Linked DNA regions of Homo sapiens: all the other regions are linked to region 3. Evidence: promoter capture Hi-C in 16 types of primary human blood cells and fetal thymus (Javierre and others, 2016). All regions are on one chromosome and are shown on one strand. Each heading gives the region's core, a stretch centred on a gene start or on the middle of the fragment in contact. The rest is flanking DNA. Distances are from core to core; before and after follow the strand shown. Region 1 holds the start of CPAP (centrosome assembly and centriole elongation protein). Region 2 has its middle 3.5 kb from the start of NUP58. Region 3 holds the start of MICU2 (mitochondrial calcium uptake 2).

Region 1 (4,420 bases), core at 1,768-4,267, 3.3 Mb after region 3:
GCTTCAACCTCCAGTGCTTAGGTGATCCTCCCATCTCAGCCTCCAGAGTAGCTGGGCCTACAGGTATGTGTCACCATGCCCAGCTTATTTTTTATTTTTTAATTTTTTTGTAGAAACAGGGTGTCCCTATGTTGCCCAGGCTGATCTTGAACTCCTAGGCTCAAGCCATCCTCCTGCTTCGGCCTCCCAAAGTGCTGGTATTACAGGTGTGAGTCACTGCGCCCAGCCTAAAAATCAGTTTCTATCATGACAGATGGTGTCATTCTATAAGGCAAAAAATCTGAATTTAATGGGATTTTACAACAAGAGACTGCTGTTTCCCTCGCTGATTCATTCCCCTGTATAATACACATTGAAAATTCTTGTGTTTGGTTTTCTGAAGCATAATCCACGAATAGTATCATGAATATAGTTGTTACAATTGTTCAGTATGTACAAATGCTATCAACTGCCAGTTTATAGAACTGTTAAAAGACATAGAAGACAGTGAACATAATGATACTGTGTTTTTGCCATCGCTCCCTGGTTGAGTTGTAGAAGAGTTGTATAAAGGCTTACTGTACCATTAATTGCAACTGAAGATTTTCTTGGAACAAGATGATTGCCTGCCAACCATTTAATAACCAAAAACAAAAATGCCAATGTGATGTACATTTTCTCACTGTATCACACTTTGAGAACCACAGCTATTCAGGCATTTAAAAAAACAAAAATTGCTGCCACAGGCAGTAACAAAAATAAATAATGATGTGTGAACATCAGACAAATATGATTCCTTTTTTTTTTTTTTTTTTTGAGATGGAGTCTCACTCTGTTGCCCAGGCTAGAGTGCAGTGGTGTGATCTTGGCTCACTGCAACCTCAGCCTCCCGGGTTCAAGCGATTCACCCACCTCAGCCTCCAGAGTAGCTGGGACTACAAGCATGCACCACCATACCTGGCTTTTTTTTTTTTTTGTATTTTTAGTAGAGACGGGGTTTCACTATGTTAGTCAGGTTGTTCTCAAACTCCTGACCTCAAGTGATCCACCTGGCTTAGCCTCCCAAAATGCTGGGATTACAGGCATGAGCCACCGCACCTGGCCCATGTTTCCATGTATATGAAGCTGAAGAACAGGCAAAATAAACCCATAGTTATAAATGGCATATTGGTCGTTATCCAGGAAAATGGGAGTTGTCCTGTCTGTGTGAAAGTTGATCATACAAATTGAGTCATTCTTATAGCCAACTAAACAATCAAGAAGTCAAGAGGGAAAGGCACTCAGGACACACAACTTTGCTCCAAGAATGGAATTCTCTATAAGTCAGTATGCTGAAACTGCCGGTTGTAACCCGAGACCAATTTGATCTATAGATGCTGAGGTAACTTGCTGCAATTGTAGGACTAATTTTGCCCTCCACCATGGCCCACTCGGTAGGACCTGCTGCCTCCCCAGAACCTTAGGAGAACCAATGAACTTTCTCGAAGAGCGACAGATATAACAATTCTCTTTTTTATAAAACCTCCAGCTTTCTCTTTGTTCTTTGGACATACTGAAGACCACCTGGTCTGTACGCCTGGAACCGCCATTCTTTCTTCCCAAATAAAACGTTAAACTTAAGAGATTCATCTCCAAATTTTTGACTTCAACAACTGGGAAGGTTAATACAGGGGGTGGATACACTTAGGCTGTACACTTAAGATTAGCGCACTTTACTGGATATCTGTTATTCCTGAATAATTTGTAAAAACTTTTTCTAAGCAAATTGTTTTTCAGTAGGAAACCAATCTAAAAAAGTAATGACTTTTTTTTTTTCAAAATCAACCACGTAACTTTGCTTAATTTCAATGACCTTAGCAGAAAATCTTTCGAAATCCAAATTCAGAAGGGAGACAAACTACAAGGTCATTTCATAATATGGAAAACTAGAAAAATTCCCTACTAGACTGACAAGTGCAAGCAGTCTTGGGATGCAGCAGCCAGACTTTTGCATCTCCTCCTCCAACTCCCCACCAAACACACCTTCTATACCTTCAATTTCATGACCGCGATTCTAAAAATATATTTAATGTCAGCATGAAGTATAAAAAAAGCGTCACCAGAACCTGCTACTTATTATTGATACTGAGGTCTTGGTAAAGGGAGCATTGATAATATATATGCCGAGATAGGATTAGTATGTGGACTCAGACTTTACAGATATCAAAATCTGAAGGACACGGGTGCACGTGTATGTCAAACTCATCAAATGGAATGCATTTAAACATGTGCCATTTTTATTGTATAGCAATTATACCTCAATAAAACTTTTAAAAAATGTAACAAACTGACAGCCTTGAAATCTCCAGAAAGTGCTATGTAAACATTCTTTAAAGCAGTATTGAAAAAAAGATAAATTCTCTGCACGGTGAGGGAGGAGAGTGGATACAAACAGCAAATTCAAAGCCACTCTTAGACCGTGAGAAGTAACTAGTTGGTCTGGGAAGTGATTTAGCAGTCCCCTAAAATACAACACGTTCTTGAAAGCCATGAATCCACACGAAGCTTCAAGAGAGAAGCCCTTGACAAAGCTGGGGCAAGACCGGCCCTTAGGACAGCCAGCAACGCTACTTCACCACCCTGCTCCAGCGGACTGCGGCTGCCGCGCTGCCCACAGGAACTCAAGTTCCGCCACAGCCAGGTCAGAGAGACAGACACCCCAGAGAGGCCGGCTTCCCCAGCTCTGCGAAGAACAAAGCAGCGCGAATGAACGAAGCCACTGAACTGCCGTGGGCCTCAGCGCGCCCGTGGGCCTGAGCGCGTCCCGGCGCCCCGCTCCCTCCTCGCCCCGCCGAGCCAACCCCGAGGTCCGAGCAGAGTCCTGCCCGCCCACCGCCGTCCATCTCCGGCGCAGGGCGGCGGACAAAGAGCTCCTCCGCTCTTTTCGCCCACAAATTACCGCTCCGTGAAGCCTGGGCAGCTCAGCAGCACGAACCGACACCTCAATCTCCGCAGCATTTACAAATGGGCCGCCACAATCGCCGCCTCTGTCGGAGCCCCGCCCCCGTCCCGAGGTCCTGTGGGAAGTGAGGATCTCACCCGCGCGTCTGCGCTAAAGCGCAGGCACCGCTGAGCCCAGTGAAACTACAACTCCCAGTGACGCCACAGCGACGGGCGTTGCCCGGCGGGGGATGGACTGCGCGCCGCCTTCCGACCAGCAGCGGGCCAGTGGTCGACGTAGGCGGGCGGCGTGGCGGGGCGGAAAACCGTTTCCGGGAGAGACCTTCCGTGGTGGACGTCGCCCCAGGCTCCCACACTTAGAAAACTAAAGGGAACGCCTAACGGAGCGATGGATCTCCGTGTTCCCAGCAAAGCAGGGAGCACGGAGAGTCAAAGCTAACATAGAGCCCAACCGACGCTTAAAGGAGGTGTTTTGGGTTTTGTTTTTTTTTTTTCTATTTGCGTACGGTCTATTTTGTCGTTTTTTTGGTTTGGTTTGGTTTTTTTCTTTGTTTTCCGCTTTGGCTGAGGTGACTTAGTAAAGGAGAAAAAGGGCAGTCCGCTACACCATTTCGTAAGACGAAAATAACCCTATGAGAATTCACTCCAAAAATAGGCATCTTTCATCTCTCCTCAAATGGCTAATCGGTGGTTTGGCAGAGTGTGTCCATTAGATTCTGAAACTAGTTTGAATACTGACAGTGCAGAATTCAAGAAATTTTTTTGTTTTGTTTCGTTTTAACTGCCACGGCCCTTTAATCTAGGAAGTTACAGCACCGTGAGTTACCACAGTACTACATACCTGGCTTCCATGTCTGATTAAACAGCAGGCCAAGTAAAATGTTTAAAGAAATCAAATGAAGTGCCATTTATAACCGTTATAACTGAAACAAACGACTGCTAAAGACAAAACTATTTCACAGAAATTTGGTCCTCCAAAATTTGTTTTGCTTTCTACTTCAAAAAGAGTCTACTTCTCTAAATCAAGATTTCGGTTTTGCTTCTTTTTTCAATTTTTCTTTTCTTTTTTTAATTTTTATTTTTTGAGATGGAGTCTCGCTCTGTTGCCCAGGCTGGAGTACAATGGCGCGATCTCCGCTCACTGCAAGCTCTGCCTGCCGGGTTCACGCCATTCTCCTGCCTCAGCCTCCCGAGTAGCTGGGATTACAGGCGCCCGCCACCACGCCTGGCTAATTTTTTTATTTTTATTTTTAGTAGAGAAGGGGTTTCACCGTGTTAGCCAGGATGGTCTTGATCTTCTGACCTCGTGATCCGCCCGCCTCGGCCTCCCAAAGTGCTGGAATTACAGGCGTGAGCCACCGCGCCCGGCCCAATTTTTCTTTTTAATTTTCACTGTGGGTGAGGAAGCTAAAGCCCGAGACTTCCGAGATCACACAGCTACTTAAGATGCCAGACAAGGACCCAAACAATCTTCCTTTTCATTTATGATAGCCCTTTGGCT
Region 2 (4,241 bases), core at 1,178-3,677, 3.7 Mb after region 3:
TCTGGATTCCCTTGAAACTTGTCTGTGTCTATACAATAACTCTGTGTTCCCACACCTCCCCCATATATGCACACACTTATGCTTGAACTACCTTGAGAGAGTTCCTATTCTTAGCAATAAAAGAGGTCTAATTAGATTATGGGGAAACTGCTCAGAGCAAAGGGAATTGGGCAGGCTTAAGGAACTTTTATCCATGACATGGAAAAGACATGAATATACTCCTGCTTCATGGAGGTGGACATCTGTCTAGTGACCAGAATATGTGTATCCGTCAAGCACAATGACTTGTTTCCATGAAAGGTGAGAGCAATAAGTGCAGATATATTGTTCCTCTTTGGCTCCCATTTTTTTGAGACTACATGTTGACCACTGCCTTTCTGTTGGCGTGTTTCAAGGCAATTACATAATAGGTTGTTGGTGGCATTTTTATTGTTATATTCCAGCCCTATATATATTATTGACTTCTGTCAATCTTGGATATTTCCTAGGTTTCCTCAGTAACGCATGTAAAATTCATCTTTTGGGGTGAACTCCTACTAAAAAGGTATATTACATTTAGTTATGAATAATAAAGATTCAGCTCTAATGGACTAAATAACATACAAATAGACTTTTCTCTCATTTAAAAGAAATCTGAAGGTAGGTAGTATAGGGCTGGTATGGTGCCTCTACAGTATACCATCACGACCTAAGCTCATACTATTTTTTTGTGATACCCTCCTTTGCATATGACTTCCATTCTTAAAGTCACTCATGGACCAAGATGGCTATTGGAGATCCAGCCATTGTGTCTAAGTTCCAGGTAGTAGGAAGAAAGGAGAAGAAAGTCAAAACAGATGTATGCCAGCTATCTGTCCCCAAGAAAATGAGTGATTCTGGAAGTCTCATCTCATGTTTCCTACCCACCTCTACCTATAGAGGAAGCTGGAGACATATAGTTGTTTATCTGGTTAGTTTGCCACTTTGGAGAAAACTGAGGTTTTAAGGAAGAAGGAAGGAAAGAATAAATATTGGTGGCCAGAAGACAGCGTCCATCATTTATCTTATGTTGACATTGCTTAGTTTCTCTTCTCAGCCTTCCTTATCCACTAAAGTTGTCAAGTCATAAAAGCAACTTTTTCAGGTCCCATCTCTGCCAATAGGAAGGGTGTATTTCAAAATAAATGACTATAGTTTGAATTACATACATTTAGCTTTATGGATAACTCCTTACATTTATTTTTCTCATTTATTGGGTGATGAGTGAAAAAATTCATCAGGAAATAGACAATTACTGTTCTGACCTGTGATTGGGAACTTTTGTTTTAACTTTAAGCTTTTCCCCCTTAACTTTGTAGTTTGAAAATTTCAAACCTACAGAAAAGTTGTAAAATTATTACAATGAACACCCATATACCTTGTTTTGACAGTCATCCTATAATTTGCATTATTGATTTATCTCTCTATATACATTTGGTTGTTGCTGTTGTTCAATCACTTGAGAACTTAATGAATTTTTAAAGTGGAAGGACACTACTCAAATATTTAAAACCCTAAAATATTTAAGACCTTTTCTGAGAATAATTTTCAAGATAAAGACTGTGATTGAAGGCAAATGGTTACATGTAATTTCTAAAAGATAACCTCTTTTCTGGATATTTCAGAGGACCAGAACTGGAGATATTACAGACTCCTTTCAATAGACTTCAGATTCCCACTTCTTTTCTGTCTTAGAACCGCTGCTGAGAGAGGTTCTCAAATGGTTATCCTGATCTGAACACCCCCACCAAAGCAAACCTATTTTAGATATGTTAATGCAAACACAAATTAGAAGTTTTAGCCTGGGCAACACGGTGAAAACCCATCTTTACAAATAAACAAATTAGCCGGGCATGGTGGTGGACACCTTTATGTAGTCCGAGCTACTCGGGTGGCTGAGGTGGGAGGATCGCTTGAGCCAGACAGGCAGAGGTTGCAGTGAGCCAAGATGGTGCCACTGCACTCCAGCCTGGGCACAGAGCCAGACCCTGTCTCAAAAAGGAAGAAAAAAAAAAAGTAAATTTTTTACAGTGCTATTTCTGTTTGGATAATTCAGTTTGATTATGACATTAACAATGTCATCATCCTGCTGGCAAATCAGCAAAAGATGCAGTTCTCTAACAGAATGCTTACAATATAAGAAGCAAGGAAAGACAAGATGGCCTACTCTAGAATTTAGAATCTGAAGCACTTGCTTCATCCCTGGAAGCAGCAATTCACATAGAACTGACACATAGGTTCAAGTCCTCTAATGTTAAAAAGCGTAATATTTAGAAGATCCTTTGGGATAGGATTTGTTACTCTACCTAGACTAGGTCAGGAAGGTTAAGCCAGATTCCAGTGCTCCATGGTTCTGCTCAGTTGCAGATAGGATTCAGACTTATGTATGCGTAATGCTCAGTTACTGCTATTTTACTGTTTTCCATTCACTAACCAAACCATTGAGCTTATTGAAAGCTGCTTTCTTTGGAGTTTCATTTCTGTAGAATGTAAGGATGTAATTTCTTTCTTCACTAATAGGACAAGCGGCACAAGGTATATGAGATGAGAAGGGGTCTCCAAGATTTAGTCTTATACTTAGTGCATCTAGTGGTAGATTGCAATACTGCTCATCAGATATTCCAGATTTTGTCTCTGCAGTGCTCCTCCTTGAGTGATTTGGGGATTTATTATGTAGTATAACTTAAAATATTCTGCCAGATACAAGGCAAGAAATGCTACACTAAAATTTTGATAAAGTTGAAAGGATAGTTTGCTTGTTAATTGGAATGGCTTCCCCCAAAACCCAAACTTTAATCTAAGTCAGACTTCCTTTATTTCTTTTATAAACGTTCAGCTTCAAAACAGTTATAGATGTGGCTGGGCGCGGTGGCTTACGCCTGTAATCCCAGTACTTTGGGAGGCCGAGGCAGGCAGATCACAAGGTCAGGAGATTGAGATCATCCTGGCCAACATGGTGAAACTCCAGCTCTACTAAAAATACAAAAATTAGCTGGGCATGGTGGCGCATGCCTGTCATCTCAGCTACTTAGGAGGCTGAGGCAGGAGACTCGCTTGAACCAGGGAGTCGGAGGTTGCAGTGAGCCAGGATCTAGCCAGTGCACTCCAGCCTGGTGTCAGAGTGAGACTCCATCCAAAAAAAAAAAAAGTTACAGATTTACAGAATTATTACATAGTGTGCTCATATTCCTCACACCCAGTTTCCCCTATTAGGAAATTAGTCCCTATGATATTTTTACATGTTCTTTCTTTCCTGTGAATATTACAAGTCTTGTTCATTATTATATATTTAAGTGCCAGCCATTTTGCTATTACTAATTGTAGGTTGGTATTCTTCAATAGTTTTGGAAAGAATACACGAGAAAATCAAAAGACATAGGGAGTGCCTTTCTATCTTCCCATAAAAATCATCAGGATCTTTTTTTTTTTCAGTCAAAAGGAAGTCTCCTAGACTTTATGTGAACAATCCTCTTACTGACCACCCTATAGCCATCACTGAAAATAGCTTTCTCTATATCACCGAAGCTTTAAAACTCACAACAATCTTTTATTTTTGCCTCCTGTTCGATAACTATGAAGTTTTTATTTATATCTTAATCCAAATATATCCCTTTTTTCTTTTTTATCATTCCCATTATGACTTCTATGACGTTTAAAATGTTATGGCCGGGCACAGTGGCTTACGCCTGTAATCCCAGCACTTTGGGAGGCCGAGGTGGGCAGATCGCTTGAGGCCAGGAGTTCAAGACCAGCCTGGCCAACATGGTGAAAACCCATCTCTACTGAAAAATACAGAAATTAACCGGGCGTGGTGGCGTGCGCCTGTGATCCCAGTTACTTGGGAGGCTGAGGCAGGAGAATCGCTTGAACTCAGGAGACGGAGGTTGCAGTGAGCCGAGATGGCACCACTGTATTCCAGCCTGGGCAACAGAGCGAGACTCTGTCTCAAAATAAAGTAAAATATAAATTAAATTTAAAAAACAAAATAAAATGTACGTTTCTTTTTAATTATACAAACACAGAGGTGGTGTATTAGTCTGCTTGGCTGATACAACAAAATACCATAGACTGAGGTGGCTATAACAACAGACATTTACTTCTCTCAATTCTGGAGGCTAAGTCCCAGATAAAGATGGGGCAGTTTGGGTTCCAGGTGAAAGCCCCTTCTTGCTCTGTCCTCACATGGCACACAGAGGAGAACAAGCTCTTCGTTGTTTTTTCTC
Region 3 (4,585 bases), core at 601-3,100:
AGACCATCCTGGCTAATACGGTGAAACCCCGTCTCTACTAAAAACACAAAAAATTAGCCGGGCGCGATGGCGGGCGCCTGTAGTCCCAGCTACTCGGGAGGCTGAGGCAGGAGAATGGCGTGAACCCGGGAGGCGGAGCTTGCAGTAAGCCGAGATAGCGCCACTGCAGTCCGGCCTGGGCGACAGAGCGAGACTCCTCTCAAAAAAAACAAAAACAAAAACAAAAAACAAACAAAAAAACCAGGATGAATCTAGGGGAGAGAAACTAATGATGAATACACTGAACTCCTTGGCACAAGATTCACAAAAATGCTATAAAAACACTAGATAATAGATCTTTCCATTATATATGTTTACAATATAATTATAATGTATGTTAATACAAATAAGGAATATCAGTTGCCAATACTTAATTTTAACTCACAAGGCCTTCTTTCCTCTCTTTTTTGTTGTATCTGAATGTTCCTTGAGTTTTTCGCTAGAAAGGCATAATGTAAATCTAAAAAAGAAAATAATAAACTACTACTTTCAATTTTCAAAAAAGCTCATATGTAAAAACTTACTAAGTCTACAAAAATTTTAAAGCACTACTCATTCAAATTTTCAAATGCGTTACAACATCATTTATCCTGAAATAGGGAACTTGAATCTTTTTTTTTTTTTTTTGAGACGGAGTTTCGCTCTTGTAGCTCAGGCTGGAGTGCAATGGCTCGATCTTGGCTCACTGCAACCTCCGCCTCCCGGATTCAAGCGGTTCTCCTACTTCAGCCTCCCGCCACCACACCCAGCTAATTGTTTATATTTTTTAGTAGAGACCGGGGGGGCGGGGCTGGGGTGGGGAGCGGCTTCACCATGTTGGCCAGGCTGGTCTCGAACTCCTGACCTCAGGAGATCCACCCGCCTCGGCCTCCCAAAGCCCTGGGATTAAAGGCGTGTGCCACCGCGCCCGGCGGACTCTTGTCTTTAATAGATGGAGGTTTTAGGAGCAATTTTTGCTTAGAACTTATGGTCCACTAAGATATTAAGGTTTATAATCATGCAATAATGTTCCTTAAAGTTGATAATAAAATCTGGAAATCAACTGGTTAATTTTTGTGGCTGACACATTCGTGACTTAAAAAAGCAATCGACAGAACTTCATCATGCTATACAAAGAAAAGATCGTAAAACTTAGTTGCAAAGCTTAACAAAGGTATATCCCACAGGGGTAACTGGACGCAAACCACCTGCGGATGTGAATGCCACTTCACTGACCAGAGAGGTAGCAAGAGGCGAGGCGCAGTGAGATTCTGAATTAGGAGCCTCGAATTAAGACACGCCCACACTCATCACCACTAAATTAGTGCGGCCAGTTTTGTGGGCCGTGGTGTTCAGCGTCCGCGGGGTTCTCCCAAGGGAGGCAGAATCTCCGGTCACCAGCCTCGAAGGCCCTCGGGGACTCAGGCCGGGGGCCGGTCCAGGAAGGAGCGAGTCCCACCAGTCGCAGGGCGCTCCGATCCGCAGCGGCACCTCCACCCACGGCTCCGGGAGAGCCGCCCAGAGCCAAACCACTCCCCGCCTAAGGGCGTCAGGGGAGGGAGGAGCTTGACTGGGGCTAGCAGAAGGAGTTAGTCCTGTACCTGTGCGGAGACTGTAAAACTGCCATCCCGCGCCGCAACACTGACGCGGCTGTGGTGCCAGGCCGCTCCTGCTCCTGCCAGGGCCGCGCCGGCCACTGCCGCTGCCAAGGGGCCGGGACTCCGCACAGCCTGTCGGCTGACAGCGAGCCCCCGTCGCAGTTTTCCGCCCCAGGCCGCCACCCGCGCGCAGCTACCCGCAGCCGCCGCCATCTTTGCGGAAGCGCAGCTAGGCGGCGCTTCTCTCCCGGCGCCGCCGCCTACCGCTTGGGAACTCTCGCGACATCCGACAGGCTTCCGCCCCGCCTACCGGGCCTGCGCCGTGGGTGCGGTTGCTGAGGCGACGCTCGCAGCCGCAAGAGGTGGCCTTCGGTTCCGGGGCTGCCTTCTAAGGCTGTGGGGATGGGATGACAGGAAGAGTATCAAGACAGTATAATATGACTTCCTAGTCCAAAACAAGATAGTGCCCTCGGTTGTGTGGGCAGGTTTCTCCTTTTCATTTTTTCACCTTGTAAAACTGTGAAACGTTTTTTGAAATAGTCTCTTCTGCATCTGTGTTGTTCATGTCTTCCTATGCTTATAGTCTTGACTGTTCTTTCATTTCTGCTAAAACAACTCTCAGACAAGGCATTCTGTTTATTTCAGTCCCTCACTATTTGCTTATAATGAATTTAAATTCAGTTTCAACAAAAGGTTTGATAGTAGCTCTTATCCTACCTAGAACTAAAAGTCAGAGACAGCAGCACACCAGCCCCATGTCTCTATCATCAGGGACCCAGAGGTTTTCCCCAGTGCAGATTTAGAACGATACCTCCAGTCCTGGCTGTTGCATTGGTGATAAGTGATGTAGCTGAGGCAGACTACTTGGTTTTATTTAACAGCCTCCAATCCTCCATTCTTTGGTCTTCACTTTTCCTGAGTAACTCTTTTTAATAAACTCTTTGTTCAGCCTCTGAAATGTCCCCAGCTATTAGAAGCTTTAGTTGGGCATGCAGTAACGGAGCCAACATCAAAGGGGCCAAGACTCCTAATCACATAATCACTGCTGTCTTGAAGTTTTGCACAAAACAAAACTTCAAGAAACAAAAACAAAAACCTGTCACACGAAATCTAATTTGATCATTCAGTGGAAGTTCCGTGGATCCCTTTGTTATTATCTGCCCTTAATCCTTGCTCCCTTTCTCTTAGCCCGCTTGTCTAAATTAATCTGCAGTCAGAGGTTCCTCACTTTTCCGTCAGCTTCTGGACTTACTTTTCAGTGTGCCTTCCCAGGTAGGAAGTAGAGAGATGAGCCTCACTTCACCGACTTGTGAGCCAGACCTCAAGGTTTGAATCTTAGCTCTACCAGGATGATCACTGTGGTTTGGGGCAAATTATTTAATCTCTCTGAGTCTCCATTTTCTCATTTGTAAATAACTCACGATTTGGTAGATGATCACTGCTATTTGGGGTAAGGTATTTAATCTCTTTGAGTCTCAATTTTTTCATCTGTGAACAACCCTCTTACAGTTTGGGGTGGGGAAGCTAAATGAGATATTTTATATAAAGTGACTAGCCAAATGCCTGGCACATGGTAGGCTCATGACAGATGTGCGTTTACTGTGGTCAAGGTTTGGTTTACTTCTGCCCTGTGAACACAAATGAGCTTGACTGAATGTCCATGATTCCAGATCACTAGCCCATCTTAACCTGAGATTTTCCTGCTTTTTTGTATCTAGCCTGACTTTGTCAACCTCTGGACTGTTTTTCACCTCTGCTAACTCTGGTAGCTTTGGCACATGTCCTGCTTTTCTGGACTATTGACATCTAGCTTGTTTCCTGGTGATAATAGGACTTCCAGGATATTTTGGACACCCTGGATGTCTTACCTTGTAGTTTATTCTTGATTTCCAGAAACCACAGTCTTTACGTGTATACTTCTAACTGCCTCACACAGTTCCTCTAGGTATTTAATGAAACCTGGCATCTATTACTCAGTATTGCCTTAAGCCCAAGATAAGTTTAGATTCCCATTAAAACATGTAGCATATTTAAGAACATTGTCTTTCTCCCACAATTTGACATCCTTGTGGGTGAGATGTCTTCCTTTTCCCTGTTTCTCTAGCACCTAGCACAATGCCCAGCACGTAATAGACATTCAATGAGTGAGTAAATAAGTGAATAAATAAATGGCACAAATGAAACTCAGGGGTTCATATTTCTATGCTTTGGCCATCCAAAATACAGAAGTATATTATTCCTTTGGGGTACTTTATTTTCAAAACAAAAGCTTCTTTTTATTTTGCCAAAAATCTTTGAACCCACTTGGAAAACAGTGTAATTAGTTATTTTTTAAATTTTCATTATGTGCCCAGGCATCTAGAACTCTCACTTATAATTTAATGTATTCAAACTTTTCTTATGCAGAGGAAACAAATTCTTATAATAGAACCAATCTCTAGTCGAATAACCATTCTAAGTATGAAATCTTCCTTGGCAGCTGCTGACATTTGTCTAAGCACATTGACTATATTGGTCTTTTTGGGCTCCAGCTTTGTTCATTTCTTCATCATCAGCTGTAAAGTCCTGGGCTGGGATGTATTTTCAACCATGCAGTTTATAAACCAACCCCCAAATAAGAAGCTGCTTCTAAAGCTGTACATTGTATGCTGTTTTAAATAACTGGACGAAAACAGGATGGAAATACTTATTGTTTCAAAGTATTCTTAATTCACTTACTCCTGCTCTTTTTTTCTGAAGAAGAACGAAAGTGATATGTCAGAAAAACTGCTCTTAAGGAGCTTTATTTTCACTGGAGAGGCTAGGCTTGAATTTCAAAACAATTGTCTCTGACTTTTATACTGTACAGAGAAGCAAGGGTGAGGTGGGCTGGCACAGGCAGAAAAGCATCTAGGGAAGACAGAAGACTTGATCTGGAACTTGCTGGGGTCTGAGGCAGGGTGAGAGCCTGGGGGAGGGTGCATACAGTG

Evidence for each region. The method cuts DNA at HindIII sites, captures the fragments that hold promoters and counts their contacts. A CHiCAGO score of 5 or more calls a contact.
Region 1: a contact is called between the fragment with the promoter of CPAP here and the fragment with the promoter of MICU2 in region 3, in 4 of 17 cell types (total CD8 T cells, total B cells, naive CD8 T cells and 1 more). The highest score is 7.7, in total CD8 T cells.
Region 2: a contact is called between a fragment that was not itself captured here and the fragment with the promoter of MICU2 in region 3, in 2 of 17 cell types (fetal thymus and total B cells). The highest score is 6.6, in fetal thymus.

What each region holds. Positions count from the first base shown.
Region 1 is chr13:24,919,844-24,924,263 of GRCh38, forward strand. It overlaps CPAP (centrosome assembly and centriole elongation protein), which reads right to left and starts at 3,018. Exons shown (of 17, transcript NM_018451.5): 1 at 2,918-3,018. RefSeq lists enhancers at 2,162-3,063, 3,064-3,965. The HindIII fragment of the contact is 2,154 bases long and covers 2,522-4,420 here.
Region 2 is chr13:25,296,032-25,300,272 of GRCh38, forward strand. No RefSeq gene overlaps it. Among named protein-coding and RNA genes, the nearest start is that of NUP58, 3.5 kb to the right of the region's middle. The HindIII fragment of the contact is 2,228 bases long and covers 1,314-3,541 here.
Region 3 is chr13:21,602,320-21,606,904 of GRCh38, forward strand. It overlaps MICU2 (mitochondrial calcium uptake 2), which reads right to left and starts at 1,851. Exons shown (of 12, transcript NM_152726.3): 1 at 1,620-1,851. The coding sequence starts at 1,829. RefSeq lists enhancers at 945-1,564, 1,565-2,183, 1,965-2,034 and a silencer at 1,585-1,794. The HindIII fragment of the contact is 1,411 bases long and covers 1,181-2,591 here.